7 separate regions of the Homo sapiens genome follow, and regions 2, 3, 4, 5, 6 and 7 are each linked to region 1. Evidence: promoter capture Hi-C in 16 types of primary human blood cells and fetal thymus (Javierre and others, 2016). All regions are on one chromosome and are shown on one strand. Each heading gives the region's core, a stretch centred on a gene start or on the middle of the fragment in contact. The rest is flanking DNA. Distances are from core to core; before and after follow the strand shown.

Evidence for each region. Contacts are between HindIII fragments. The CHiCAGO score rates a contact against its expected background, and 5 or more counts as called.
Region 2: a contact is called between a fragment that was not itself captured here and the fragment with the promoter of MDM2 in region 1, in 1 of 17 cell types (monocytes). The highest score is 6.6, in monocytes.
Region 3: a contact is called between a fragment that was not itself captured here and the fragment with the promoter of MDM2 in region 1, in 3 of 17 cell types (naive CD4 T cells, non-activated CD4 T cells and fetal thymus). The highest score is 6.2, in naive CD4 T cells.
Region 4: a fragment that was not itself captured here is called in contact with the fragment with the promoter of MDM2 in region 1 in 3 of 17 cell types (megakaryocytes, erythroblasts and M1 macrophages); the score reaches 11.1 in megakaryocytes.
Region 5: a contact is called between a fragment that was not itself captured here and the fragment with the promoter of MDM2 in region 1, in 6 of 17 cell types (megakaryocytes, fetal thymus, naive CD4 T cells and 3 more). The highest score is 8.7, in megakaryocytes.
Region 6: a contact is called between a fragment that was not itself captured here and the fragment with the promoter of MDM2 in region 1, in 1 of 17 cell types (megakaryocytes). The highest score is 6.2, in megakaryocytes.
Region 7: a fragment that was not itself captured here is called in contact with the fragment with the promoter of MDM2 in region 1 in 1 of 17 cell types (monocytes); the score reaches 5.2 in monocytes.

What each region holds. Positions count from the first base shown.
Region 1 is chr12:68,805,940-68,810,130 of GRCh38, reverse strand. MDM2 (MDM2 proto-oncogene) reads right to left here and starts at 1,954. Exons shown (of 11, transcript NM_002392.6): 1 at 1,640-1,954; 2 at 839-923. The coding sequence starts at 1,653. RefSeq lists enhancers at 977-1,366, 466-1,665 and a silencer at 1,867-2,256. The HindIII fragment of the contact is 7,204 bases long and covers 1-4,191 here.
Region 2 is chr12:69,588,985-69,593,175 of GRCh38, reverse strand. CCT2 (chaperonin containing TCP1 subunit 2) reads right to left here. Exons shown (of 16, transcript NM_006431.3): 7 at 3,489-3,691; 8 at 1,017-1,117; 9 at 73-200. Among named protein-coding and RNA genes, the nearest start is that of CCT2, 5.6 kb to the right of the region's middle. The HindIII fragment of the contact is 2,196 bases long and covers 1,268-3,463 here.
Region 3 is chr12:68,188,206-68,192,396 of GRCh38, reverse strand. The region is part of intron 1 of LOC105369818 (a long non-coding RNA gene); the gene reads right to left. Among named protein-coding and RNA genes, the nearest start is that of IFNG, 31 kb to the right of the region's middle. The HindIII fragment of the contact is 1,833 bases long and covers 1,295-3,127 here.
Region 4 is chr12:68,215,316-68,219,506 of GRCh38, reverse strand. All of the region lies in intron 3 of IL26 (interleukin 26), which reads left to right. Among named protein-coding and RNA genes, the nearest start is that of IL26, 8.4 kb to the left of the region's middle. The HindIII fragment of the contact is 700 bases long and covers 1,463-2,162 here.
Region 5 is chr12:68,235,598-68,239,788 of GRCh38, reverse strand. No RefSeq gene overlaps it. Among named protein-coding and RNA genes, the nearest start is that of IL26, 12 kb to the right of the region's middle. The HindIII fragment of the contact is 6,281 bases long and covers 1-4,191 here.
Region 6 is chr12:68,256,346-68,260,536 of GRCh38, reverse strand. No RefSeq gene overlaps it. Among named protein-coding and RNA genes, the nearest start is that of IL22, 4.8 kb to the right of the region's middle. The HindIII fragment of the contact is 1,098 bases long and covers 1,427-2,524 here.
Region 7 is chr12:69,354,143-69,358,333 of GRCh38, reverse strand. LYZ (lysozyme) reads right to left here. Exons shown (of 4, transcript NM_000239.3): 4 at 4,100-4,191. Among named protein-coding and RNA genes, the nearest start is that of YEATS4, 3.5 kb to the left of the region's middle. The HindIII fragment of the contact is 2,584 bases long and covers 1,089-3,672 here.

The sequences.
Region 1 (4,191 bases), core at 705-3,204:
CATGTTGGCCAGGCTAGTCTTGAACTCCTCATCTCAGGTGATCGGTCCGCCTTGGCCTCCCAAAGTGATGGGATTACAGGGGTGAGCCACCGAGGCCAGCCTATAATTCTATAAAATCTTTCTTACAGAAATAGTCACACGGGATGCATGTACAAAGCGGCACTATCTGTAATACTCAAAAACAGGAGGCAATTTTTAAAAACCTATCAGTAAAGGCATAAATAATTTTTAAAATGGTATACTCATGCTGTGGAATACTATGCAGCCATTAAAAAGAATTCTGTAGACTTTATTTATTGACAAGGATGCAAGTCACAGAACAACTACAGTTTCATCTTGTTAGTACAACAAACAGGACAATAACATAGATTTAAATTCAAATGTAAATATATGTGGGTACGCACACAAAAAATCTAAAAGGAAACATGGAGCAAAAAGCCTGGAATTTTCAGGTTTTACTTTAAAATTTCTCTAATGACAAAAATCTTTAAAACAAGCACGAATAACTTTTTTGACTTTTAGAAACCATTTTTAAAAATTAAATACTGGGAGGTCAAAAAGGAAAAAAAAATCAGTCACGTAACAAACGTAACTTCAACCACGCTTAACAATGTAATGGAACTAATTTTTAAAGCAAATGTGGCAAATGGCTAAAAAAATACTGACCAGTTCTTAACAGTTTTTAACTCCACGCAGTTACGCCAGAGGTAGCACACTTTAAGCTATGCACATACAATTTTATTTACAGAGCCATGCTACAATTGAGGTATACGAAATTTAGTTTATCACTTCATAAAATAAATTATTCTTAAAAGTTACACGAGACAAAAATACTAACCAGGGTCTCTTGTTCCGAAGCTGGAATCTGTGAGGTGGTTACAGCACCATCAGTAGGTACAGACATGTTGGTATTGCACATTTGCCTACAAGGAAAAAAAAGACACGATGAAAACTGGAAATCATGAAACATCTGTGGAAAATACATCATATATAAAGAACATAAACAACAGTTAAAACTAAAGCTACAAGCAAGTCGGTGCTTACCTGGATCAGCAGAGAAAAAGTGGCGTGCGTCCGTGCCCACAGGTCTACCCTCCAATCGCCACTGAACACAGCTGGGAAAATGCATGGTTTAAATAGCCCCAGCTGGAGACAAGTCAGGACTTAACTCCTTTTACTGCAGTTTCGGAACGTGTCTGAACTTGACCAGCTCAAGAGGAAAAGCTGAGTCAACCTGCCCACTGAACCGGCCCAATCCCGCCCAGACTACGCGCAGCGTTCACACTAGTGACCCGACAGGCACCTGCGATCATCCGGACCTCCCGCGCCGAAGCGGCCCCGCAGCCCCCGGCCCCCGTGACCTTTACCCTGAACTCCCGCGGAGACCTCCGAACCACCCCCACCCCCACCGCCGCGAGAGCCGTCCGAAATCCCGCCCTCCTCCCTGGCGGCGACTGCCTAGCCCCAGTCCAACAAAACCTCCGCAAAGCCACGTGCCCCATGCCCCGCGCCCCGCGCCCCGAGCCCCCAGCCACGAACCGCACAAAGGCTGCGAACGGGCAGAGGCTGGGAACCAGCGATAGAGGGGACACCGTCAGAGCCCAGACCCAAAAGTGACCGCTCGCTGCCGGGCCAGTACCTGCTCCTCACCATCCGGGGTTTTCGCGCTTGGAGTCGGGGGTCCCTCAAGACTCCCCAGTTTCCTTCACGGGGCGCGCGGAAGCACGACGCCCTGGGCCTCGGGGATCATTCCACTCTCCGGGCCAGGGCACTGGGCGCTCGTACGCACTAATCCGGGGAGGGACGGTGCTCCTGGCTGCGAAAGCAGCAGGATCTCGGTCAGAGGGGTCGCGGCCGCCCCTCGGGCTCGGCTTCTTGCTCCATCTTTCCGACACACAGGGCCACACAGGCCCCAGAAGCAGCCAAGCTCGCCGCGGTGCCTCGGTGCGCGCCCCCTACCGCCCGAGGGGAGCGCGCGGGTCGTCGCGGCGCATCCGGGCATTTGTGCGCGCGCACACAACCGGCCCCGCTTCCGCCAATTGGGTCCGGGGCTCGGCCGCACCACCTCCGGGATGATGGAGTGGGGGGTGTCGCCCCGCGGGCGCGGCGGGCTGTGAGGCGGGGTGGGGGTGTTGGCCGCGAGCTGAGAGGGTGGGGCTCGGCCTGGCGCGGAGCCAGCAAGGTTTGGCGCTGTGACACTCCTTTAGCCGTTGCGCTATGTTTGTATTTCTTGTGTTTACACTTCCCGCCCGCGGTGGAAACTGCGACAAATGCGGATCTCCGTGTCGCTGTTACCAAAAAGAAACCAAAATTAACAGCTGTTTAATATATTAAGCCCACTCCACCAGCCGCTGGAGTTGTACCCAAATGAGTTATTTTAAGGCCTGTTTTTAAAAAAGATTAAAAATAGCACTTAAGGCAGGCTTATACACCGGTGCATACAGCTGTTCTGGTTGGAGAACGAAGATGCTGGTTACCGTTGGCGGGGAGGGGAGCGGTTACTCTGCGCTTTTAGAATGTTTGGGTTTGGCTGGGCGCGGTGGCTCACGCTTGTAATCCCATCACTTTGGGTAGGCCGAGGCGGGTGGATCACTTGAGGTCAGGAGTTCAAGACCAACCTGGCCAACATGGGAAACGCCGTCTCTACTAAAAACTACAAAAATTAGTCGGGCGTGGTGGCGGTCACCTGTAATCCCAGCTACTCTACTCCGGAGGCTGAGGCAGGACAATCCTGTGAACCCGGGAGGCAGAGGCTGCAGTGAGCCAAGATCATGCCATTGCACTCCAGCCTGGGCGACAGGGCAAGACTCTCAAAAAAACAAAAACAAAGTTTGGGTTTGTTAATCTACACATTCATTATCATTAAAATATATACTTATATATTATGCACTCATTCTGACTCACCTACTTTCCCACAGAGATGTGGCAAAAACGTTTTTGATGCGGTCTCATAAATTGAGGACATAAAGAATTGAGTTAGCTAAACCCAAAAACACAGCCATTGCAAAGAAGGAACACGTTTCTTCTCTGGCCAGTAAGTGATTAGCTCCTTGTGAACAAGGACCTTTTTTTATAAAGTTATATCCTTCCCTTCTGCAGCTTTTTTTTTTTTATAAAGTTATATCCTTCCCTTCTCCCGCTTCCCAGCCTACCAGAAAGGAAACTTCCTTAAACATAGTGGTCACTCAGTTGATTTAAGTTGATTGCCAATATTATTAACTTAAGAGATTTAATATGTGGCTTTTAAAAAGATAATCTCATCTTCATCAGATCATATACAGTGGGGTTTCTAATAGACTCAGTGCTTGACCCTGGATGAAAGAAAATCTCAAGCAGTGAGAAAATGTAAGCATGAAAAGATAAGTGATAGGCTGCGCACGGTGGCTCACGCTTGTAATCCCAGCACTTTGGGAGGCTGAGGTGGGTGGATCACGAGGTTAGGAGTTCGAGACCAGCCTGGCCAAGATGGTGAAACCTTGTCTCTACTAAAAATACAAAAATTAGCCGGGCCCCGTGGCGGGCGCCTGTAATCCTAGCCACTTGGGAGGCTGAGGCAGAAGAATCGCTTGATCTCGGGAGGCAGAGGTTGCAGTGAGCGGAGATCGCGCCACTGCAGTCCAGCCTGGGTGACAGAGCAAGACTCCATCTCAGAAGAAAAAAAAAAAAAAAGAGATAAGTGATAGAGGTTGATATTTGTTAAATATCAAGTGAACGAATGGGTTTGTGCTATAAAAGTTCAGAGACAGAATTAATTGCTTAGTAAATGCTGGAGGCAGTTCACAAAGGCCTCAGAGATCACACATATTTTGTGTCTTGAAAGATGGTGAGACTTAAATAAAAGCAGAGAATATTCCAGGCACAAGAAAATTATCAAAAAATACAGAAAGGAAAATATAAGAGGACTGTTTGAGATACAATAAATAAATCCGTTTGACTTGCATGAAAGTCAAGAAGAAGTTTTAAGAACTTGGAGTCTCCTTAAATGCCAAGCAAGGAAATTTGGGCTTTCGACAGAGTAGACATTAGAAGCATAAAAACAAGTGATTTGCTTCAAACTGTATTTTAACAGGACCACCAAGAGTAGATTCAAACTCAGAATAGTCGGGCCGGCTGCCTTCTGGACCGACTTTCCCCCTTCTCATTGGCCTTGTGCTTTGAAAAAATTATCTTGACAAAATTATTAGAGCAGAA
Region 2 (4,191 bases), core at 1,116-3,615, 780 kb before region 1:
CAATATAAGTAAATATGAAGTATTCCATAAACTTTCATGGAAAAAAATCCTTTCTTAAAAGCAAACACAGACCTGTTAATAAAGCAATTTATTCCATGCTTAAGAATACGTTCAACTTTCTCCTTCATTTTTTCCTTTTCCGCATGTTCTATTTCTGCAACCTTTGCTGTAGAGTCAACTCTTACCCGGGAACCAAATATCTAAGACAAACGAAGCATAAAGAGAGCATCAGTTTCATTATTTTTTTTGAGATTGAGTCTCGCTCTGTTGCCCAGGCTGGAGTGCAGTGGGGCAATCTCGGCTCACTGCAACCTCCACCCGCTGGGTTCAAGTGATTCTCCTGCCTCAGCCTTCCAAGCAGCTGGGATTACAGGTGTGCGCCACCACACCCAGCTAATTTTTGTATTTTTAGTAAAGACAGGGTTTCACCATCTCACATTGGTCAGTCTGGCCTTGAACTCCTGACCTTGTGATCCGCCCGCCTGGCCTCCCAAAGTACTGGGATTACAGGCGTGAACCACCACGCCAGGCCTCATTACTCTTTTTAAAGAGTCCCATAGCATATTTCAACATTTTTACCAACGTATATATATGTGTATATACACAATAGATTCATACCTATTCCAAGCTTTTTAGTGCAATTGATTCCTGAGTTTATAGAATCCAGCAATTTTTTTTTTTTTGAGACTTTTGAGACGGAGTTTCACTCTTGTTGCCCAGGCTCGAGTGCAGTAGCACAATCTCGGCTCAGTGCAACCTCCGCCTCCTGGGTTCAAGTGATTCTCCTGCCTCAGCCTCCCGAATAGCTGGGATTACAGGCATGCGCCACCATGCCCAGCTAATTTTGTATTTTTTTTTTTTTAGTAGAGACAGGGTTTCTCCATGTTGGTCAGGCTGGTCTCAAACTTCTGATCTCAGATGATCCACCACCTTGGCCTCCCAAATTGCTAGGATTACAGGCATGAGCCACTCTGCCTGGGCAGTAATTTTAATTTTTAAAAAGTAGAGTTACATACCTTTATTTTGTCTGTATCCATACCAGTATTTGCAATAAGAATTTTAGCATTTTCAATTCGTTTTGGTTGATTTACTCCAATTTTTTTATCCAACAGGAAGCCTACAATAAATATAAGAACAGTATCATATTTAATACTTCAAAGCAGCCTTAGTAAATCTTATAAAAAGCTGTCTGCTTTATCATATCACTGTTTCAAAGAAGCTATTTAAGTCCAATTTACCAAGCTCTTAGAAGGCATAAAAGCAAGCTTGTCCAACCTGCCTTATTCTGTTGTTGTTTTGCTTTTAGGCTTTTAGCGCCTGAAAGCCATGGATTTTAGTTTCTGTCTCTAGTGATAAGCAGAAAAGAGGGAGGAGGAAGGGGCTTTACCGACCCAACCAGAAACAGAAACTAGGAACCCATGACTGTATTCTCTTCCTTGGACACTTCTGGTATAAAGCATCCCACTAGAAGAGTTATTACAAAATCAATTTAATGGGTTACTTAAAAAATATGAAACAGAAAATATAAGAGCACAGTACAGACAATAAAATTAAACAGTATTTTGAAACTTTTGTTTCAGATATACGCTACACCCACATCTGTATGGGTTGCAATATAAAGACAATAGGTTAAGTCCTATATTTTTATTAGCTTAAAATCACCACCACAAGAGAAAAATTGAAGATTCAGGTATTGAGGCTGGTGGTAAAAATGGAAAAACCATGGACACCGTGGAGTCAGATAAATCTGACCCTGATCATGCCCCTGCTGCTGGCTATATAACCTTCGACAAATTATCCAACCAGAAATGCTAATTTGTAAAACAGGAATGTAACCAGTAGCAGAGGTGCTAGTTACCAGCCTAGTCCTGCTGCTTTGGAACCATCATACAAACCCAGTACCACCTACCTTTCTAGGCCTTTTTTTGGTTACATTAGAAACTTTTCCATTATGAAGCCACCATTATCTTGGGTTTTCTACTCTATTCAAGTGAACCTAATCCTCACTCACCAGGTCATGATGACTAAATGACTAAAGTTCCTATTACAATTCCTAGTACAGAGCAGACATTCAAGAATGGTGCTGCTTGTGCTACTAATATTCTTGTTTTAATGCTCCTTCCCTACCACCAGCCCCTATCAGAAATGCTACGCAGCGGCCAGGCATGGTGGCTCACGCCTGTAATCCCAGTACTTTGGGAGGCTGAGGCAGGTGGATCCCCTTAGGTCAGGAGTTCGAGACCAGCCTGGTCAACATGGCGATACCCCGTCTCTACTAAAAATACAAAAAAGTTAGCCAGGCATGGTGGCACACGCCTGTAATCCCACCTACTCAGGAGGCTGAGGCAGGAGAATCGCCTTAACTCAGGAGGCAGTGGTTGCAGTGAGGCGAGATCATACTGCTGCACTCCAGCCTGGGTGACACAGCCAGACTCCGTCTCAAAAAAAAAAAAAAAGAAATGCTACACAGCTCTTGTATATAAACTTAATCAAGAGTATTTTCAGAATTATGACTCTCTCTTAAAATAAATCAAGACCTATGACACAGAACAAAACCAGGACTCCAAACCACTGGTAAAAACAGAAGTTGTAAAGCACCATCTAATTCTTTTTTTTTCCTTCTCTATATAAGAATGCCTATACTTTTTGACAGGCCATTTTGTGAAGTAAATATAATGTGAAGATGATCTGGAAAACTTCACTCTAAACAAAAATGTACTACTAAGAAAGCAGTACTTATTATGTCTCATTTATCACTCTTTAAGAACTAGATCCTCTTGCCCTATAAACATACATAATTATTTGTTAAAGAAATTTTTTTTAATTCTTTTCTAAAAAAAACTAGTCATCCCCCAGTATACGAAGGGGACTGGTTCCAAGACGCCCACATACACCAAAATCCCCACATACTTAAGTTCCAGGCTGACTGGAACCAGCAGATTTGAAAAGCTGGCCCACTATATACATGGGTTTCAAATCCTGCAAATACTGCATTTTCCATCCACGTTCGGTTGCACATGTGCAAACCACGGACACAAAGGGCTGACTATATTTATTGAAAAAACCTGCATTGTGAACCTACATAATTCAAACCCATGTTGTTCAATGGTCAACTGTACATCCTCAACAACCAGCTAACACAATGATTTGACTGACCCAGACCCTTCCTGGAGAATACATATAATCCTGGTAAAAGTACCATTTGAGAATAGATGATTTCTAGTAAAAGAAAACATTTCCTCTTTATCAGAGACTGCAAATAACTTCATGGTAGTTAAGTAAACTCTAGAGATCATCAACAATGCTGGAATAGCGCGGGAAGAGGAGTACACTGTCAATAAAATGACAAAAATGGTTGCACATATGATATGTCCTTAAATTCAAGTTCACTGGCTTTGTAAAGGGTCACTGGTCTCAAAACAGAATTCACTCAGTATTCAGCCCTCAGCATCTAATCAAAGCTTCTTGTATCTGACATTCATACATACCTTCATCTAAATAGGAATCTGCCAAACTTCCTCCTAGCTTCTTGATAATATGAATTGCCTCCAGGTTGCCAGAGCCTTTCAGTCTGAGAACTGCTTCTACAGCTAACTTTGTAAAGTGGTCTTTGTGATGAGTAAGAAGTTTTGAGGATAATGTTGTGCCCGCAATATTCATTAAATCTTGACGGAATTTAACTTCATCGGAACTAAATAAAACCAACCAAATATACATATTAACCCTACTTTACTTTTCAAAATTTATCTAGATATTCATGTCAATAGATAATTTTACCCTAACTGATCAAGTCTGTAAGCTATATGAAAAGAATTAAACCTCAGCAGTAATCAAGAAACACAAATTAAAGATGTTATTTTCCCCACCAAACTGGCAAAATGCCAAAAAAAAAAGAGGGGTGGGGGCCACACAAGCATGCAAAAGTCTAATGTTGGCAAGAATGTGAGAAATGGCCGGGCACAGTGGCTCACGCCTGTAATCCTAGCACTTTGGGAGACTGAGGAGGATGGATCACTTGAGGTCAGTTCAAGACCAGCCTGAGCAACATGGTGAAACCCCATCTACACTAAAAATACAAAATTAGCTGGCTATGATGGCACATGCCTGTAGTCCCTGCTACTTGGGAGGCTGAGGCAAGAGAATCGCTTGAACCCGGGAGGCAGAGGTTGCAGTCAGCCGAAGTCGTGCCAC
Region 3 (4,191 bases), core at 962-3,461, 620 kb after region 1:
ACATTCAGGGAGTCCTTATCTGGCCTTTTACTCTCATCAATCCTAACCTAAAATTCAGCATATAGTAGGTGTTCAACAAGAGTTTGTCAAATAAATGACTGAATAAGTTTAAAAATCCATCTCTCATTACCCTTTGACATGTATGCCTCCTTCAAGATCAGTCTATTTTTTTAAAAAGCCCCCAACACGAGACAAGCTTATTTCTGCTTTCATGTCCTTCTGTGTGCCAGATTGTCCATCTGCTATGTCTTCTCTACTCTTTTATTTCAAGATAAATTATATATTTTCTTCATGATCTCCTCTGCTCTACTAAGTCTTGCATGGCCACTGTAGCCCACAATGAATATTCCCTTTTGGTTAATTTCCCAGTGTGATTGAAGATTACCTATAAATACATGCTGAGCTTTCTCTATGTACCTGATTTTGTGGAAACTATTTACGGTTCTGCTGTTTTATTCTGATATAGCTTTCCAAGTGTTTCCTCAAATTTTACTACATTGTGTATTTTACTCATTTAGCCAACAAAGATTTATTTGTTTTACTTATTAAGTGTCAGGCTCTGTCCTAAACGTTAAACAGGTGAACATACCATTCTTGATAGGGGGACACAGAAATAAACAAAGGAGTAAACATAAAGGATGTCAGAATAACAAGAACAAACAAGCAGGAGTGGGGGGGTTTCAGGGACTGGGGAAGGGCGGGGACTGGTTTGCTCTTAAAAAAAAGGCTGATCAGAGCTGGGCACAGTGGCTCATTCCTGTAATCCCAGCACTTTGGGAGGCTGAGGTGGGTGGATCACGAGGTCAGGAGATTGAGACCATCCTGGCTAACACTGTGAAACCCTGTCTCTACTAAAAATACAAAAAAATTAGCCGGGTGTGGTGGCAGGCACCTGTAGTCCCAGCTACTTGGGAGGCTGAGGCAGGAGAATGGCGTGAATCTGGGAGGCGGAGCTTGCAGTGAGCTGAGATCACACCACTGCACTACAGCCTGGGTGATAGAGGAGACTCTGTCTCCGAAAAAAAAAAAAAAAAGGGCTGGTCAGGAAAAAGCTCACCAATGAGGTGACATTTTTGCACAGACCTGAAGGATCCTTACAATGACTAAGGAGTAGAGAGTAAAAAGATTATTGATTTTGGTTTTGTAATTTATGTGGATGTAGAAACAGGCTTGGGGATGTTAAATATTTTTAGTAGCATCACATAATTATCATGAAAGAAGTTAAAGCCATGATCTAGAAGATTTTACAATTCTCTGATTCACCTGTTGTGCCTTATTTTCTCTCAGGTAAGCTTCTTAGTTATCTGGTTACTTTTAACAAATGGCAGAAACAACTTCTTAACTATGGAAGATTATGTTCTTTTGATTTACCAAATTATTTATCCATATATGCAGAGAATATATTTTCTGAATGAAAAATTGGGCAGCAAACTCTGAAAAGTTCTAACATGCTCAGAGGGACAATGGGACCACATAATTGAAGTTGGCACCAAACCATGAATATCTGGTCATCATAATAATATAGATGCCTTGGACATAACAGCAAGCACTAACCACAAAGTAATGGTGTACTTTGCCCATAAGAAAGAAACAAATGTGTGACTGAAATCAGCTTTTCTCACTCTATTGCATGGAATATATAGTATTTCCTCAACATATTAGTTTTCCTGTTTTAAACTTACAAAAGTGTTTTCTTATTTAACAAGTTTAAGAAAATGGTGCAAACTATATTTTCTGTATGGGGAATTATAAAGCCCATCAGAATGTTACAGGTTGGAGAAGTTCCACATTAAAACAACTCTTTAACTTTGTTTAATATGAGTTTCTAGAAGATTGTTTCTTCCAAGAATACATTGGCCTTGTAGGCACTTAGTCAGATCAAATGCCTTGTTACCTAGAAAACAGTTTGGAAAACACCAGTTCACACAAATGGTTATCTTGAGATGAAGCAGAGCTAGAAAAGTGTATTATTAATGAAGAAGAAGAAAAACAACAACTACTGGATTTCTCTTCAAAGAATAAGAAAAACATTTAAGGAAGCAAAATGCTGATATGATAAATATGTTTGGAGGAGATTAGAAGAGATTTTAATAAGTATATATAGATAATAATTTTTATGTTTGCTATTTGTATTTATTGAAACAAAGTGAATGTCGTAAGTGTGAAATGCACTGAAGAGACATCTCAGATTGCTGCTTCCTGCTCACCTCATCTACTGAAAAAACATGGTGTGTCACCACAGTGACTTGCCTTTACCCACAAGTGAGGAACTCAGTTTTATTTCCTAGATAAAATGGAAGTGCCAACGATATTCACTTTTTTTCTGTTCATCTGTAACATCTTGGGAATGACCAATGACACTTTCCTACTGAGAAAGAAAACTTTTCATGGTAGTAGTAACCACAGATTTGGATGATGACTCACATTATTACATTAGTAACATCTTTTGTTCTATACTCCACACAAGGAAAAAAGTGCTGAATGCAAAACCACAACTTCAGCTGTCGGTGGAAATGATAGTTAATGGTGCTTTGCTGCTACGCTGGGGGCCAATTCTTGGTAGAGAGGATTATCTTGAATGTGGTTTCTAAATCAATAGATAAGTATGAATTGTGGCACAAATTATATAATATAATTGATTATCATACTTTTAAAATAGATTGAATCTTTTTTGTAAGAGAAATCTGGTTGTAAATTATATTAAAAATAAAATTTTATCAATAAATATATATGTAGATATATATAAGTTATAAACAACTCAGAAGGCCCCTAGATATGGAATCAATTAATGCTTTCTATAAGTTATTTCAAAGGCTAACTCTAAATTATAGTGGGAATAATTTTGGGCTTCAGAGTATGAATTTGGAAATCCTAAAGCCTATATTGGAGAGTTATGATAATCAAAATGGCCAAGACAAGTCCTAGGAGACAATAGCATTTAGTTGAGTGCCTTTAAGAAAATCTAGATTTGTCAAGTAGCTGGTCAATTTTCACAAACATAGCTGAAACAAAATATATTTCAGAATAACATAGGCTTTCTGTGACCATTTCTACACTTGTAAAGTTCAATGTCTAAAAATGTTGGGATGACGTTTTTTTCCCCTCAAGTATCACTTAAAAGAAAGCTTTTAGGCATATAATTCACTTAGATTTTTAATTTATCAATAGTTTCTAAAATAATCTTCTCTGAGAGTGTTGTCAAGGTAAATTCTAAAATGTATTGTTTTAAATTTGTCATGTAACAGGACATTTTACTTCAGAGCTCACAATTGGTGACCATAATATAAAATGTAAAAGAAAAATAAATCCTTTACTACTATTCTGTAATGTGAATTTATTAGTGTCACCACTGAAGCAGCTACAGATAATGATGCTGCCAACAGAAATTTTAGGTGGATTGTGATAAGCATTTCGAAGCAAGTTTTGCCTATTTTCCATAAGCAAATTTCCCGATTAATAAATCAATACTCCTTTAAGTGGCCCATTCTTTCCTTTTTGGATAATGATTTTGAAAGAGAGCTTTCTAAGACATATTACATAGGTTCCTCTTACAATAAGTTTATTCTACGTCTCTAAACTTCAGTTTCCTCCTCACTGAAACGAATACTTTCAATTCAGAGACTCCTAAATTCCCTCCTAGCTCTCATATTTCCTCCTGGCTATAGGCATGTTGGTGTGTGAGCATGGGTCATATTCACTTCTTCCTTTCTGTGTGTGGTTTCTCTTTCTTAGGAGCCCTTCTTCCGATGGCCTCATCTGTTGGTATTCATGCAGACTTGGGCATCCTCTTCCCCAGGTTTCCTGAAGGAGCCCAGAGCTCTTATTCCTCTGGGAAATAGGACCATCGCTCCCTCAACCTCCTGCTAACCACAGGCAGGATTGAAGAAGGGACCCGTAATTTTGTGTCCCTGGTAGGATCTTCAATGTTCACAGCCTCCCCATGACTCTCAGCTTTGAGACTACCAAGGATAATCCCGTGATGCTCTTTATGCTTGTTTAGGACGGAGGGCCCAAGAAGCCCAGGACATCCAGGTGACCCCTCCGTCCCAAGGCTTTCATTTCCGTGATGGCACTGCACTTCCTTTTCCCTCACTTCATCTTCCACCTATCTCCAGCTTCTGAAACCCTTTCAGTGTGTCCCCTGAACTCACTGTCAGTCACCAGCAAGATCCCTTATATCTTTAACATTTT
Region 4 (4,191 bases), core at 563-3,062, 590 kb after region 1:
TGCTATGTTGTGCTTTCATGTTTATTTGCTTTAAATTACTTGCTAATTTCCCTTTTTATTTTTTCTTTTATATATGGGTTATTAGAAGAGTGTTATTTAGTTTTTATATGTGGGAATTTTTCTAGATACTTTTCTAATTTTGATTTCTAATTTGATATCATTTTGGCCAGAGACCATACTTTGTATGACTTGAATCCCTTTATATTTGCTGATCCATGTTTCATAACCCAGAATTTGGTCTATTTTGGTAAATGTTCTATGTATATTTGAAAAGAATATGTATTCTGCCATTGTTGGGCTGAGTATTTTATACATTTCAATTAGATTTAGTTGTGACAGCTTTTTACTTTTTCTCTCTCTTTATTAACTTTTTTCTACTTGTTTTATCAATTATTGGTATCTCTGACATTAATTGTGAACTTCTGTTGCTTCTTGAAGTTCTATCAGATATTGCTTCATGTATTTTGAATTTCTGTTATTAGGTACAGAAATGTTTATGATTGTTATATTCTCTTGATGAATTGACACATTTATCATTATAAAATTACCCTTATTGTCCCTAATAATATTCTTTGTCCTGAAATCCACTTCTTTTTTGATGCTAATAGAATCACTCCAGCTTTCTTTTGATTGATGTTAGTGTGCTATGTCTTTTTCCATCCTTTTACTCATAACATATTCGTGCCTTTTATTTTTCTCATTATTACTTGTTTTAAGCAATTTGATTATGATGTGAATTGATGTAGTTTTCTTCAGGCTTCTTGTGCTTGGAGTTGATTGGGAATCTTGTATTTGTGAGTATATAGTTTTCATCAAATTTGAAATTGTTCAGCATTATTTATTCAAAAACTTTTTTCTGTATCTCCTTCTGTCTCTTCTCCTCTTGGAATGCTAATTACACATATATTAGCCCATTTGTAGTTGTCCCACAGCTCACTGATTCTGTGGGTTGTTTTTTCCCAGTCTTTTCTGTGTTTCATTGTGAATAGTTTCTATTGCTACATCTTCAAGATCACTAATCGTTTCTTTTGTAGTGCCTATCTGTTAGTCCCATTCAGAATATTTTTCACCTCATACATTGTAGTTTTTATCTCTAGAAGTTTGAATTGAGTCTTTTTAATATTTTCCATTGCTCTATTGAACATGATCAGTCTTTCTCTAACTTCTAGAACATATGGAATAGAGTTATAGCAACTTTTAAAATATCCTTATTGATTAATTGTAACATTTGTGTCCACTCTGGGTTGGTTTCAATTGATTGATTTTTTTCCCTCGTTATGGGTCATATTTTACAGCATCTTTGCACGGCTGGTAATTTTGATCAAATGTCAAATATTATGAATTTTACCTTGTTGGATCCTAGACATTTTTATATTTCTGTAAATATTCTTGAGTTTTCTTCTGGGACACAGTTAAATTAGTTGCAAACAGTTTGATCTTTTCAGATCTTGTTGTTTAAGCTTTGTTAGGCAGGACCAAAGTATTGTTTAGTCTAGTGCTGTTTTTGCCACTCATTGAAGCAACACATTTCTGTAAACTCTACCATATTTCCTATGATTTTGCTTTCCTTTCTTCTTTTCCTTCTCTTCCTCCTTTTTGAAATGTATTTGTTCAGGACATTCGGCCATTTGTCTCACAGAGTTTCTCATAGTCTGTATTTTCTGACTGCATTTTCATAGTGTCATTTAATATATTCTCCTCTTTATTTACCATACATTAACAATTATACAGAGAGACTTGATCAGATTTAGCTTGATGTTTTAGCTAGAACACTTTATAGGTAGCATTGTTTGCTTTCACTGGGTCACATGATGTATGATCTTTATTTTTACGATGATAACAACCCCTGACAATTATTGTCTAGATCCGTTAATTCATAAGGCACTACAAAATAATAATTTTTAAATTCTATTTTATCTTCTTTACTCATAAGCTGGGATAATTCAATAAATAGAATCTACTCCTATTTGGATGTTCTGAGGAACTTATCATATAAGAAAGCCAGGTTAAATACTTAATTATCTTCCTTTATTTGCTAGCTTTCAACATAAGTGGTTGGTTTTCTGATTTTCTCCCATAATGACCAATGAATTATTAATTTTGTTGTCATTTTCTCTGTTTCATTATTAACTCATGAAATTATTTCTTATTTTTGTGAAGCTTATCTGATTTCTCTAAGGTACCTGCCTTTTGGGCTTCCTTGCAAGTCCGTTTTCTTGAGCCACTCTTAAGATAAAACAGCATGACAAATTATCATGATAGACTCCAAGGACTGGAATTCCCAGTACCACTGTATTTGGACATCCTCTCATTGCTTCTGGTGACATTCTAAGCATTTTGCAGCACCTAATAAAATATATTTTCCAATTAGTTTGATTTGGGTAAGTCAGATAGTATAATTGTTCAAAAAATAAGTTATGTGTAATGTAAACTTCTTTATGTTTATACTCTTTCCTAGCCATAATATTTGGAAAATTGTTTATGTAAGAAGACATTTTAGAGATTCTTACAGAACTCAAATACTCTCAGACTTGAAAGAGAATTTAGCAGTCACCTTATTGGATTCATAAAATAATTTACCTAATTGCTAGTGATCAAAATAGAAATGAAAATAATTTCTGTTAGTTTTTAAGATTTCATCGTCTACTTTAATTAACATTTTGAGAGCCTGAACAGTAATTGGTATTTAGAGAGACACATTTCTTCATGTCGGTTGCATGTAATTAATTTTAAAGTCTGGCAAAAATTGGCAAACAGAATATTGTGTTTCCATTTTTTGTAGACTGTTTAATAAGTAACTTGTATCATCAATTGCAAATAGCTTATCAACTTGTAAAATAATACCATTCATTCATCCCTGTAATTTAAAATTGTAAAAATTGCAACTGGTTGAACTGATAAAGCAAGAGTGAGACCAATCCTGTCTTATTCTTTTATCAGCTGCAAAGTCTAAAACCTGTGTCTTCAATAACAGTAGCCTCATCTTAAGGTCGTTGGGAGAATTAAGTACCTAGCATGTAGTAGTTCTGCAGAATTGTTAGTGCTTCCTTTATTGCTTTTCATGCACAGAACATTAATTTTTATTCCAATTACATTTTCTCAACAATTTACGAAGGAGTGGTTCTCTTAAGTAATCAGATACTTTTTTAGTGCTTAAAATTAGTATTATATTGTATAATGTGTATAATTTATAGTAGTAGCTTATTTATTTTTTTATGAGACGGAGTCTTGCTGTGTTGTCAGGCTGGAGTGCAGTGGTGCAATCTTGGCTCACTGCAACCTCCACCTCCTGGGTTCAAGCGATTCCCCTGCCTCAGCCTCCTGTGTAGTTGGGACTACAGGCGTGTGCCAGCATGCCTGGCTAATTTTTTGTATTTTAGTAGAGATGGGGTTTCACCATGTTGGCCAGGATGGTCTCGATCTTCTGACCTTGTGATCCATCCACCTCAGCCTCCCAAAGTGCTGGGATTACAGGCGTGAGCCACCACGCCTGGCCAGCAGTAGTTTAATTTAAAGATAAATAGGCTGAGCATGGTGGCTCATGCCTGTAATCCCAGCACTTTGGGAGGCTGAGGTGGGCAGATCACTTGAGGCCAGAAGTTTGAGACCAGCCTGGCCAACATAGTGAAACCCTGTCTCTACTAAAAACAAAAATAAAAATAAAAATAAAAAGTTATCTGGATATGGGGTGCATGCCTATAATCCCAGCTACTCAGGAGGCTGAGGCACGAGGATTACTTGAACCCAGGAGGCTGAGATTGCAATGCGTCAAGATTGCACCACTGCTCTCCAGCCTCAGCAACAGAGGGAGATTCTGTCTCAAGAAAAAAAGATAAATAAATTATGAGTAATTGGTTTTAACTTTGGTAAAGGTATTTTCTAATTATGTTATTGAATTGTTTTGCTGACAAATTCATTTCTTGGTTAATGATACATAATTTCTCTGTCAAAATTGTGAGGCATGAAAAATGACGGAGAAAAAGCAAGCTGGCTTCACTATCCCTTCTTCTGCATCCTGAAAACCAAAAACAAATACACAGCACTATGATTATCACCAGCAATATCCCAGAATGCTAATATATGAGGATAAGACAGTTCCTGAGGCCTCAGAGAAGTGAAAAAATTTTGGGCAGATAGTAACAGAATTGGAATTTTACATCCACAATGCCCCTCCCCCAATCTGCCAGGCAC
Region 5 (4,191 bases), core at 1,210-3,709, 570 kb after region 1:
AGCATTCCGTTTCTATGGGAATGAGGGTTTAAGTCACTTTACCAGGCAAAGGACTCCATTCTACTGTGGTACAGGCAGAGGGTAAGGGAAAAATAAAGCGGTGGTGGAAGAAAGAATCCACACTTGTTAACTTGGGTCTTTCGAATTGCTATAAAAGCAGGAGCTGTAGCAGATAGGATTTCTGTTCATTGTTTGTCTTCTCCCCTCCTTTCCTCCCTTTTATTTGAAGAGTACTTGTGGTGGCTAATATTTTTGTTTTCAGGTGGGAATATGACCACAATGACATCATCCTATAATGATATGGTAGCTGATGAGATTCTATATGTTTCCTAGGCTGCCAATACACATTTTTCACCTGGATAAAGATAAGAGTGGATGCTGAAGACACAAGGGATGCAAGGTGTCCATCTGGCCCTCCAGATCCATATTCTGTACTTTTCCACTCTACTTGGTGCCCAAAGAGGCTGACGTATATGGATTGGTTCATATACATGCAAGCTCCCTGGCTTTTGATTGTATTTGGCTAATGGAAGAAGTACCGGGAGATCGAAGGGTGGGCTGGGGGGTGGGGAGGATAAGGTCAGAGTATCTAATCCCTTGGAGCTCTCCTGCCAGGCTGCCATGCTGGTTGGCTATGTACTTCTACCAAAAGCCTCAGCTCTTGCAGACAGCCCTTCTCCATATAGATATCTTTGTTAGTTCTGAAAACCACTCTCAACCCTTACTTCAACAGCCAGCTAGCTGTTGTTAGTCTCAGGGAATTGCACTATTTCTTGTTGGTTTCCTTGAGCTCTTTCCACACCTGTTATGGTTTGAATGTTTGTGTTCCCTCCAAGATTCATGTTGAAACTTTATCTCCAATGCAATAGTATTAAGATGTGGGACCTTTAGGAGGTGATTAAGTCATGAGGGGTTCTCCCTCCTGAATGGGATTCAGACCCTTTTAAAAGAAACTCCACACAGCGTTAGGCCCTTTTTTTTCCATTCCACCTTCACCCTGTGAGGACACAGCATTCGTCTTCTCTGGAGAATGAACAACAAGGCGCCATCTTGGAAGCAGAGAGAGAGCCAGCCCTCACCAAACACCAAACCTGCTGGCACCCTGATCTTGGACTTCCCAGCCTCCAGAACTGTGAGAAATAAATGTCTGTTCTTTATAAATTATCTGGTCTGTGGTATTTTGTTATAGCAGCACACACTAACACAATGCCTTAAGAAAATCAATCTATTATTAAACTCTTATCCATTCCCCAGTTTGAACGTAGCATACATTTTCTACTGGGACTCTGCCCTATTTACTCTTCTTCCCCCTTCCATTTCCCGCCCCTCCCCAACTCCCACCCAGCAGCAGGATGGAGTCTGGGAATTTAGGTGAAATCATTTATGGACAATAAATAAAACCAATTTTGGGTGTGTCTGAGTCGTGTGTAAATTTTTGATCCTGTAACAAAACAAACTTGGAAACAACAGTATTTTGATTTCTAAAATTTAAATACTGTTTAATATTTTGTTTTCCTGTTTCTCCAACAGTTTTCTCCACAAAGAAGTAGAGGTGCTGAGGCCAATGTGCACTATCGCCTACAGGAGCCTAAAATTCCCTTCTGCCCCTCAGTCCCAGGAGTGCCCTTGCTCCTTTCTGTGTTTGCTCTTCCCTCTCTGCAGCATCCAAGGGCATTCATAGGAATCTTTGTTTAATTTGGGCTACTATGCAAGCTACAGGATGAGAGATTCTTTCACTGGAATAATTCTGACTCCTCTTAACCTTGCATTTTGGCTGATTCTGTTGTGTGTGGCCCATCTTCCTCCTCTTTTCTTGTTACAGCTACTAAAAATATTCAGGGTGACCCAACGTGTTTCTATTAGTCACAGTCCCTTCATTGTTTCTATGGGGCTTAACCATCTGGGTTCATTCTCTGCATCTTGAATCTTATGTTAGCCATGTGTGTGCAGTTTAATCTCTATAGCACCTAGAAATTGACCAGCTGAGTCCTTACCAGTAGGCACTGTTTCTTTTTGAAATTCACAGGCTGTGAGGTGCTTTTGTGAGCTGTTCTTTCATCTGTGACATTTTCATCTTGCCATCGCCACAGATGCTATTTTTAAGCACAGTAACTGCCCAGGAATTTTAGAACTCTTACATTGCTGCTTGTCTCAGTGAAAGCCTTAGAAATTTCAATTCAATTTAGTTCCTAAACGATTTTTTAGATCATAGGATATACAAGATCCTGTGGGATGGGCTTTGAAAACACAAGGTCAGATTTTATTTGGATGCTGCCCTGAAGGAGTCTGCAGTTGTCTTGCGAGGAAGACAGGCATGCAACAGCCTAGGGCACAAGTGGACTGACATGTGCTACCAGTGAGGCACCAACAAGATGACAATCATCATTGGGAAGGCACCGAAGGTTGCATTTAAGCTGATCTTTTGGAGGACAAGAAGGATTTAAATGGGTTCAAATGACAACACTGTGAAATTTCCCTTTTTTCTTCCCCTTTGCAATCCAGCCGTAGTTAATTGCTCCATCTTCAGGGCTCTCAAGGTATAATTTACATCTCTCTTAGCATTTATCACACTGTAGTTTAATCCCTTGTTATGTGTCTATCTTGAGAATTTTTAAGGACAGAAACTGTTGCCTACATTTAAGCCCCTATACCCTGAAAATGCCTGGCACTTTATAGGTGCTCAGTAAATGCTTGAGATGGATACACAAAGGATTGAATGGCTTTCTGGACCCAAGGACCCAGATGAGCAAAGAGTTGGGGATGTGAAAGTGGATAGAGTGCTCAGGCGAGGGCCACAAGTCCGTGTGGCTAGAGCACAGCTTGTGTGGGCAATGCAGTGGGAAACGGCCAGTAGCTGGTAACATTAATTCTCTTCAGTTTTCTATTTCTAGTCCCTGGAAACGCAGTTCTTGATGGGACTTATGCAAAGGGAGCTTGGTGGACTAACAGGATTTGGGCTCATACCGGGCCTCAGCCCCTAACCTGCTACAGGCTGATATGACAATTCCATCAACGCTGTGTACTTTCACTTTCTCTTTGGTGAGTTTAGGCAGCTGATACTCATGAAAACTTCCCACCACCAGGTGCTCACAGGAATGATACGAAAGCTGGTGCCACTGATGGTGTGGAGTAAAATCCATTCAAAAAACTAAATACACAGCAATTAAGTTGTTTCTGACACAGCCAGACAAGAGGTGTTCCCTCAAAGGGAACACTCAAACTGTAGGAGACCCAACTACAGCCTAGTTGGATTGCTTTTATTGATAATTGCTGACATGTGAAGGCTGCTAGGAACCCTGCGGTTTAAAGCCATGGTTGAATCATCTTGAGCTTTCTTCCCATGGTTTTGCCAAACTCTCCAGGCTTTCATCTTCAGAAGGTTGTTCCAATGGGGCTTGTCTACAGAGTGCATGTGATCTGCTCTTCACTGCCCCAGAACCTTTGCATGGAAAATTCCTTGTCCTTAAAATGAGAAGTACACCTATCCTCATGGAGAAATTAAATCACTTCCATCTTGGCTGGAAGAATAATTGTTTAAATTGAATTTTAATGATACTCAGAAATGAAAAATAAGGTGCACCGCGACCAAGCTCCTCTCCCTCTCCCCAGGCGGGGAGCCCAGGGAGATGCTGATTTGCCCTCCCTCCAAATGGACCTGCCCTATAGGCAGAAATCCCCTCATAATCTGTTTGGTCAAATATGTCTCATATGTTCATTCTGATCATTGGCTTAGATTAGGAATGGACAAGATTTTTGTTTGTTAAAGGAAAAATAGTAAATATTTTAGGCTTTGTGGGCCACATATGGTCTTTGTTGTATATTTCTTCTTCTTCCCCTCCTTGTCTTTCTCTTCTTCCTCCTTCTCCTCCTCTTCTTTTCCCCTACTCCTTCTCCTCCCGCCTTATCTTCCTTCCTCCTTCTCCTTCTTCTCAGCCCCTTAAAAGTGTAAATACCCTTCTTAGCTCATAAGCCTTACAAAAACCAGCTACAGGCCAGATTTGCGTCATGATTTGCTGACTTTGGGCTTAGATCATCCACAGTTCATCTCCTGGCACTACACACACTGACACCCAAACAAAATTCCATGATTAAGATTAAAAGACATTGGTTTTGTGGGCAACTATTAAGATCTGTTATGAGGGCAACTATTAAGATCTGTTATGAGTGGCAGATGGCAGATAAATTCAGCAC
Region 6 (4,191 bases), core at 726-3,225, 550 kb after region 1:
ATAGTACACATGCAGCCGCTGAATTAGAACAGTGACAAAGAAAAGGAAAAAGGGGCATTTTCTCAGGATTGATATTTGTGATATTTTAAAACCAAATCACCCAGGCTTTGGAACTGTGTTTGGACAGACAATACCAATTGTTGGCAAGCATTTATAGAAAATGAAACTCTCATATGCTACTCTAAAGAGTACAAATTGGAAAAACCATTTTAGAAAACAGTTCTGCATTATCCACTAAGACTGAACAAATATATACCCTGTGGTTCATATTTTTAAAAGTTTAACAGGGTCGTGAGGGTGTAGCAAATGTTTAGTTTACTTGGCCCACAATGTTCCCATCAAAGGCTGAGAGGATCTGGTAAGACAACACCAAGAATCACGGAGTTTTGAATATGAATTTTTAAAAGTTATGTTTTAAAATAATATGTAGCGTCTGCAAAATGTGAAAAATGTTAATAACTCTAAAACTGATTAGAGAACTGGGATAAAATATTCACCGATATTAGTAAATTAATTGTGTTTTGAATCTCTGGTGGCAGAAGCAAGTGTGGGTTATGACTCTTTACACCTATTTACTCGCCAAAATAATAAATGAAAAGAGAGACTGGGATGTACCTGTGGTCTTCAAAAAATCTATGACAGTAGAGGGCAGATGTTAGGAAGCTAATATCAAATTCTGTTTGCACTAGAGTAGTGAAGAATTTCCATAAATGTTGCCTTCCTCTATCTTTTAAGTTGATTTCAGTACTTAGCATTAGTAGGGAGAAAAACATGCTCGTTTACATTATGACACATTCCTGTGGATAGAGTCTTCTCTTTAAGATGAGATATAATACTGACTGAGAAGACTCAGTCCCCAGGAAGAAGGGAAAGGTGGCTATGGTTGACAAGTGTCTTTGTGGGCAGATTGTGGCAGGTGAGGTGGGACTGGTAGGAAGTTACTCTGGGTACCACCAGGGTTACCTTAGAGCAGAAGTGGGAAGTAAATGCAGTTTATGTTTGAAAACCCCAGTCTCTAGCTTTTGTTTTTTGCTGTACCTCTAACCTCTTCTCCTCACTGGCTGTGAATCACTTGCTCTTCGTGTTCTCAGGAGATGAGTAATTGAATAATCCCTTTCTCCAAGCCAGCTGGGTACTTATTCACACCAAGGTAAATGTGACTAATAACAGCTTCGCATCTTACTTCTCCCATGAAGTAAGTAGGAATTAAATCTTATACACAAGACCTCAGTGAAAAAATTTTTGAAAGACTAGCAAAAGGGTATAAAAGAAGGTCTTTGGCAGAGACATGGTCGATACTCTTGGATGTAATGAGTTCACATTACAAAGATGTTAATTCTCCTTAAACTGGTCTTTACATTAAATAAAAACCTAGTAAAAATTTCTGCCATATTTTTCCAGGAACTTGACAAATTTATCATAAGCTTTATATAAAATATATATGAAAAGTCCACGAATAGCTAAGTCAGCCCTGAAAAAGTAGAGCAAAAAACGTAAAATTTCCTGTTCAGTTTTAAAGACACTCTTCAGTAATGACTGGCTTAAGAACAAAAAGAAAAATAAATAAACCAATGGAACAAAAAAGAGGACTCAGATATATATTTCTATGTATGGGAAATTCACATATGATAAAAGACATTGTTTAGTGGACTATGTTGGGAAAACTGGCTCACTATGTGGAGAAGAATAAAGTTGGATTTCTTACCTTTCATCACATACAAAAATGCATTAAAGACCTGATTGTGAAAGGTTAAGCCATAGAATAAATAGAAGACGAGATAGAAGAATGTCTTTGTGACCTTGGGATGGAGAGAGGCTTTTCAAACAAACCTTGAAAAGTGCAAATCATATAATTATAAATAATGTCTTAGATGACATCCAAATTAAGTCTTGCTGTTCAACAAAGGCCAAATAAACAAAGTGAATTGACAGATAAAAAATTGGGAGAAGGTCAGGTGTGGTGGCTCATGCCTGTAATCCAGCACTTTGGGAGGCCAAGGTGGGTGGATCTCTTGAGGTCAGGAGTTCGAGACCAGCTTGGCCAATATGATGAAACCCCATCTCTACTAAAAATTAGCCAGGCATGGTGGCGGATGCCTGTAATCCCAGCTACTTGGGAGATTGAGGTGGGAGAGTTGCTTGAACTGAGGAGGTGGAGGTTGCAGTGAGCTGAGATTGCACCACTGCCCTCCAGCTTGGGTGACAGAGCGAGACTCCGTCTCAAAAAAAACAAAAACAAAAACAAAACAAAAGGAGGAGAGTTTGTTATGGCTACAACCAAAAATATACAGGGAACTCTTACAAATCAACAACAGAAAAAGAGCAAAGCCCGCTAGAAAAATGAGTGACTAATGTAAGTAACCAATGTATAAAAGGTGGAAACCCGAGTGGCTACTAGTGTATGAAGAAAAATGTAAATTAAAACAGTAACAAGATAGATACCATTTTAAACCTCCAAAGCCTGGCCAAGTTAAAGCTGGATCATACGAAGTGTGGAGGGGGATTTAAGGAAACAGAGGAAGCTTTATTTGCTGGTGTGAGAGTAGATTAACACTCTTTCTGGAGAGCAATCTGGCAATATTTAGTAAATGCTAATAAACTTATCCTTATGACTTAGTGGACATACTTCAAAAATTATGTCAAAAATACTCTCAAAAAATACCATAAAAATGACTTGGTTAAGGGTGTTTAGAGCTACAATGTCTGTGGTCTGGGCAATTGGAGGCAGTTCAGGTGCCCACTGTTGGAGAATGAATAAGTAAGATGTGGTCGGTACACACTCTGGAATGTCACATTACAAGCAGAGGCTACACAAAGAAACATGGACAGATGGTAAGACATCATGCTCAGTAAAAAGGTAAGAAAGAGAGCCATTCCTGTAAAATAAAAATACCTACACACACTAAACAACACTTCTTTTTGCACAGGGATGCATCGATATTCAGAAATACACATGAAACATTAGAGCCATGACCTATGGCAATGGTAGAGGTGGTGGTAGGTGTTTAGTGGGGAGGGAAGGAGAATGATGAGGGTAGGATCACACCCACGCACGTGTGCACACACACACACAGAAACTTGTATGGAACAATGATCATGTGCACTGGACTGAAGAGTATGATGAGTACAAATCTTTTTACCTGTGATACCAGAAGTCTTCTTTCTTCTAGGGAGATTTGTGTCTTAAAGAATGCATTTCCAGTCATGGATTTTCTAGCATCAGTCAATGAGTTGGGAAACTATTTTATGTATGTGATCAATGAATATTTATTTTGCCACTATATGCCAGGCACTGTTCCATGTGCTAGGCACAGTATAGTGAATGAGACAGCCAAAGCCTACTTCTGGTTGAGGATTCTGATTAGTCCTTCTTGGCATTAGATCAGGTAAATTGTTACATATTCCAAATCAACCATGGGTATGGTCTGTCTGGGACCTGGGAGGTGGGCTTTGGGGTTGCTCTTCATCTGCGGTGGCTTTGGGAGAGACTTGAAAATTCACAAGGAAACAACTGCAGAAAAGGCCCATTATAATCTGAAAGTATTTAGCATACATATGTCTCTGGTTGCTGTTTTCACAGGATCACCTTTTTGTTATACCCACAATCTCTTCCATTTTTTTTTTTGAGACAGAATCTTGCTCTATCACCCAGACTATAGCACAGTGCGGTGATGTTGTCTCACTGCAACCTCAGCCTCCTGGGTTCAAGCGATTCTCCCACCTTAGCCTCCCGAGTAGCTGGGACTATAGGTGCACCACCACCCCCGGCTAATTTTTGTATTTTTAGTAGAGACAGGGTTTCACCATGTTGGCCAGACTAGTCTCAAACTCCTGACCTCAGGTGATCTGCCCACCTCAGCCTCCCAAAGTGCTGGGATTATAGGCGTGAGCCACTGCGCCCAGCCTCACAATCTCTTCTAATAGCAAATATTTCTGAGACTCCTAGTATGACTGTTCAGAAACCCCCATACAACACCAGAGCAGATTTTCCCTTTAGTGAGTTTTAGTTAAACTCATTGAAACTTAAGATCTAGGCTCCATTAACACTATCTTCTTGATGCTTGGTCCATCAGGGGCATACAATGAATAAGAGACACACTGCTGCTCTTAAAGAGGGCTTTGCAATTTTCTGACATTCTCTTTCTGTTTCACAGTGATTTATTTTCTATTCAGGAACAATAAGCTGGTAAG
Region 7 (4,191 bases), core at 1,131-3,630, 550 kb before region 1:
GAAGAAGCAATATAGGTGTAATATTGAAAAGCATGGAGATAAATATTTTAAAAAATAAGCTAAAAGAGTAGAAAATACTGCTGATTGTAATTTTTAGTAATTCCACTTAACAACTGTAAAGAAAATACTTTTTAAAAGACTTCACTAAATAGAAGTGCAAGGGATGTGCTCAGGGCTTAGTTATATTAGTGCCACATGAAGAGCTCAATTGTCATATGGATGTCACTGCATTTCAACCAAGATAGGAACTGAGTTTCTTTGAAAATGATCAAACATTGATATTGATTTTTATTCTGTTGCCAGAATAAGAGTAGAAATTTGGTTTGGGGGCGTAATTATATTTAAAACAATTGGTATGACTAAGAAATATTTATCAAAAACTAAAGCAAAATCTCCAACAAACATTGCTTTCCCTCTTCAGTCTACTTTGTCTAATCTCTGGCAGTTTCCTCAATCAGCCTGTGTTGTTGGGTTATCCTGGCACTTCTTGGACATGTCCTATCTCTGTTTCTCAGCTGTCACTCTTCAACTCTCTCTCCGCTACCTTGACTCATCCTTTGTACACCTCAGGGTATCTCGATATGCATAAACTCATTCGTTTTTAGTTTAATCACGTCAGAATGGTCCAAGAATTTTGAAGCCAAAGGTTGCACCTATGTAGTGGCCCTCTGCTGCCCTCACATGGCTAGTCTATGTGCTGCATTTACATAGCCAAGAAGTGGCTTGGAACCCCGCAAGCGGTTGTACTGGAATCATGTGGCCTTGAAGAGTTAATTAAAAAAAAAAAAAAAAAAAAAAAAAGGCTGGGCGCGGTGGCTCGCGCCTGTAATCCCAGCACTTTGGGAGGCCAAGGCGGGCGGATTACGAGGTCAGGAGATCGATCTCCTGACATGGTGAAACCCCCTCTCTACTAAAAATACAAAAATGAGCTAGGCGTGGTGGCGAGTACCTGTAGTCCCAACTACTCGGGAGGCTGAGGCAGGAGAATCGCTTGAACCCAGGAGGCGGACGTTGCAGTGAGCTGAGATCGCGCCACTGCAGTCCAGCCTGGGTGACAGAGCGAGACTCCGTCTCAAAAACAAAAAGCTTAGAATGTTCAGTTTGGAGGGAACATACTAAATAATCAGCAAGAGATTTATTCGATCAACTGATATTGATTGAGCATGTACCATGTTCCAGTCACTCTTCTAGGTGTTTAGAATACAGAAGTGGAATGAGTGAAAAATTTCTATTCTTCCTATCAGGACAGTGGTTCAGCATATTATAAAATCAGAGATGTATCATGGTAAGGAGGGTGTCCAGGTGTTGGGGAAGGAAGCAACCCACTGAGGGATGTCAGAGCCTGAGTGGAGAGCACTTGGGCAGAGTTGGGGAATTGGTTACATACAGGCAAACCCATCAAATACGTAAATGTACTAAGGATACATTTTAAGGATAATGAGTATAATGGATGCTAAGTTACTTACTGTCAGAGAAGAGAGTTAAAACATGCGAAAGAAGAAAACTAGAGTGAATCCTGTGGTGTGAGATTAGAATTGGAGATATTGGTGTGGATTCATGATTTTCAATATAAATAGATAGATATAGAGATAAATATAGTGTAAATACATATATCTTCCAGCTCTGTTCACTGATAGGGCCTGGAAACAGTGATACCCTAGTGCCCAGATCCTGTTTTTTTAATACTATTATGCACTTTGAGGAATCAGGGCTCCTTGGAGAAATGCCTTTTCCATTTTTGGAAGCAAGGAAGGAACAAGGTGAGCCTTAGAATATCTTGTGCCAGAAAACAAGAAAGTGCTTGAAGAATGATGGAAATATGTCGAAATGGCACAGAAGACAACTTGCAGGGGCTCACTGGCCAAATCGAGGACAGTGTGAACATCAAAATAAATAATAGTAATGGACTATAACTCCTTATGATTTGAATAAAATAGAAGCCATGGGTCCATACTGATATAATAAATAAATGCATGACCAGGCACGGTGGTTCACACCTGTAATCCAGCACCTGGGAGGCCAAGGCAGGCAGATTGCTTGAGCTCAGGAGTTCCAGACAAGCCTGGGCAACATGGCAAAACCCCATCTCTACTAAAAATACAAAAATTAGCCAGGCATGGTAACGCGTGCGAGTAGTCCCAGCTACTCAGGAGGCTGACGCGGGAGGATTGCATAAGCCTGGGAGGCAGAGGTTGCAGTGAGCTGAGATCGCGCCACTGCACTCCAGCCTAGGCGACAGAGTGAAATCCTGCCTCTAAATAAATAAACAAACAAACTGAAAATTTGATGAGCAGTAGTCTCAAGGCACCTCCTCCCCAAATACTTTACAGTGAAGATGGCTTGCAGGCCTCACCTTAATCAAGTGATCCAAGTGAACATCATCAATAATGGGGCAAATCAAAACTGCAAAAACTGAATGCCACCTGAAAGGATGCAGTGAGAACATCACTTCTGTGGTATTCCTACCAAAGATGCATAACTTAATGGAATCGAGAGAACACCAGAAAAACCTTAGGTACATTCTATAACATAACTAGTCTGTGGTCTTCAAAAGTGGCAAGGTCATAAAAAGTCCAGAAAGAAACAACTGAGGAAATAATCCAGATTCAAAGAGACTTAAAAAACATGACAACCAAATACAATATGATTCTGAATTAGATGCTTTTGTTATGAAGGTCTTATTGGGACAATCGATGAAATTGAGTGGAATCTGATGACTAGGTGGTAGTAATGTATCAGTGTTAATTTCCTAATTTGGATAATTGTTTTGAGGTTTTATGCAGGAGAATGTCTTTATAGGAATTACACACTGATGTAATCAGGGCCATTGGGTATCATGTTGGCTATTTACTCTCAAAACAGTTCTGAAAAATAAAAGATCTTTGTACAGTACTTTTATATTTTTTAAAAGATTGAGTTTATTTCAATGTTTTTTTAAAAAGTGGAAAAACCTCTGTCATTTTGGAAGTTATATTTTGGTGAGAAGAGACAAATAAGTAAAATATGTAGTATATAAAATTATTATAGACTTGAGCCCTGAGGCACTCTCACATTTAGAAATTAAATAGCAGAGAAAGAGTGAGCAAGAAGGACTGAGAAAGAACAGTCAGTGAGGTAGGATGTAAATAAGGAAAAGCCAAGGGATTAAAAAACTGCTAAAAGTATGAAGCGGTTCACTTTGTCAAATGCTGCTGAGATGAACAAGATGATCACTGGAATTAGCACTGAGGAATCATGGGAGAAATCCTGGAGGAGCAGTTTCAGCTGGGTGAGGATAGAAGCCAGATTAGAGAGGGTTGAAAAGACACTGGGAGGTGAGGTCATGGAGTTGGTAAGTACAGACATACTTCCCCAGAAGTCTTGCTGTAAAGGGAGCAGAGAATGGAGTTGCAGTTGGAGGATTATGTAGGGTCAGTGGAGTATTTGTTGTAAGATGGAAGGTTACTAGGGCAGACTGTAGAATGATGGAGGTGATCCAGCTAAAAGGGACAAACTAGGGATGCAGGAAACAGCCTGACTTGGAGTAGTGAGAGGGATGGGAGGGAAACTGCATGTGGAGTCAGTGCTGTTGGCAGGAGCAGAGGCTCTTCATCCTGATAATAGGAGGGAAGGAAGGAAGGATGGGCCTGTGGGAAGGTATGACTGCTGCTTTGGGATGTAGAAGGGAAAGCTTGGTATGAAGTTGCTTTTGTTTTAGAAGTGTAATATGAGGCCAGGTTATCTGCTGAGAGCAGAGGAGGGTGGAGGATAAGGGGGCAGAGGAGGAGGCTGAATGTGTGTCTTGAGGCTTTGAAGAGAGAAGAGGAAAAGTAAAATAGTAACAGTCATTTTGGAGACTAGGGACATAAAAATGGAAGGATTGTAGAGAAGTAACTAAAATGGTCAGGCAGACTTGAGGGCTCATTTGAGATTTATGGTTATGAATTTAAAGTGAGACCTGTCAGCATGCTTGTGAATTTTTCTCCAGCAATATCTGACTATTTAAGTGAGGTAAGTGACGATATAAGAGATATTAAGAGCACCAAATCATATTTTTTCAAATATCTGTATTCTTTTCTTCAGAGACACTATAGGAGTCTAAATAAAAACAGACAAGGCATGTGTTGCAAAGCCTTTAATTAGAATGTTTGTATTTTTTACATCATGCATAACTTCACATTTGTGATTAATTAGTAATTATTTCAATACTTG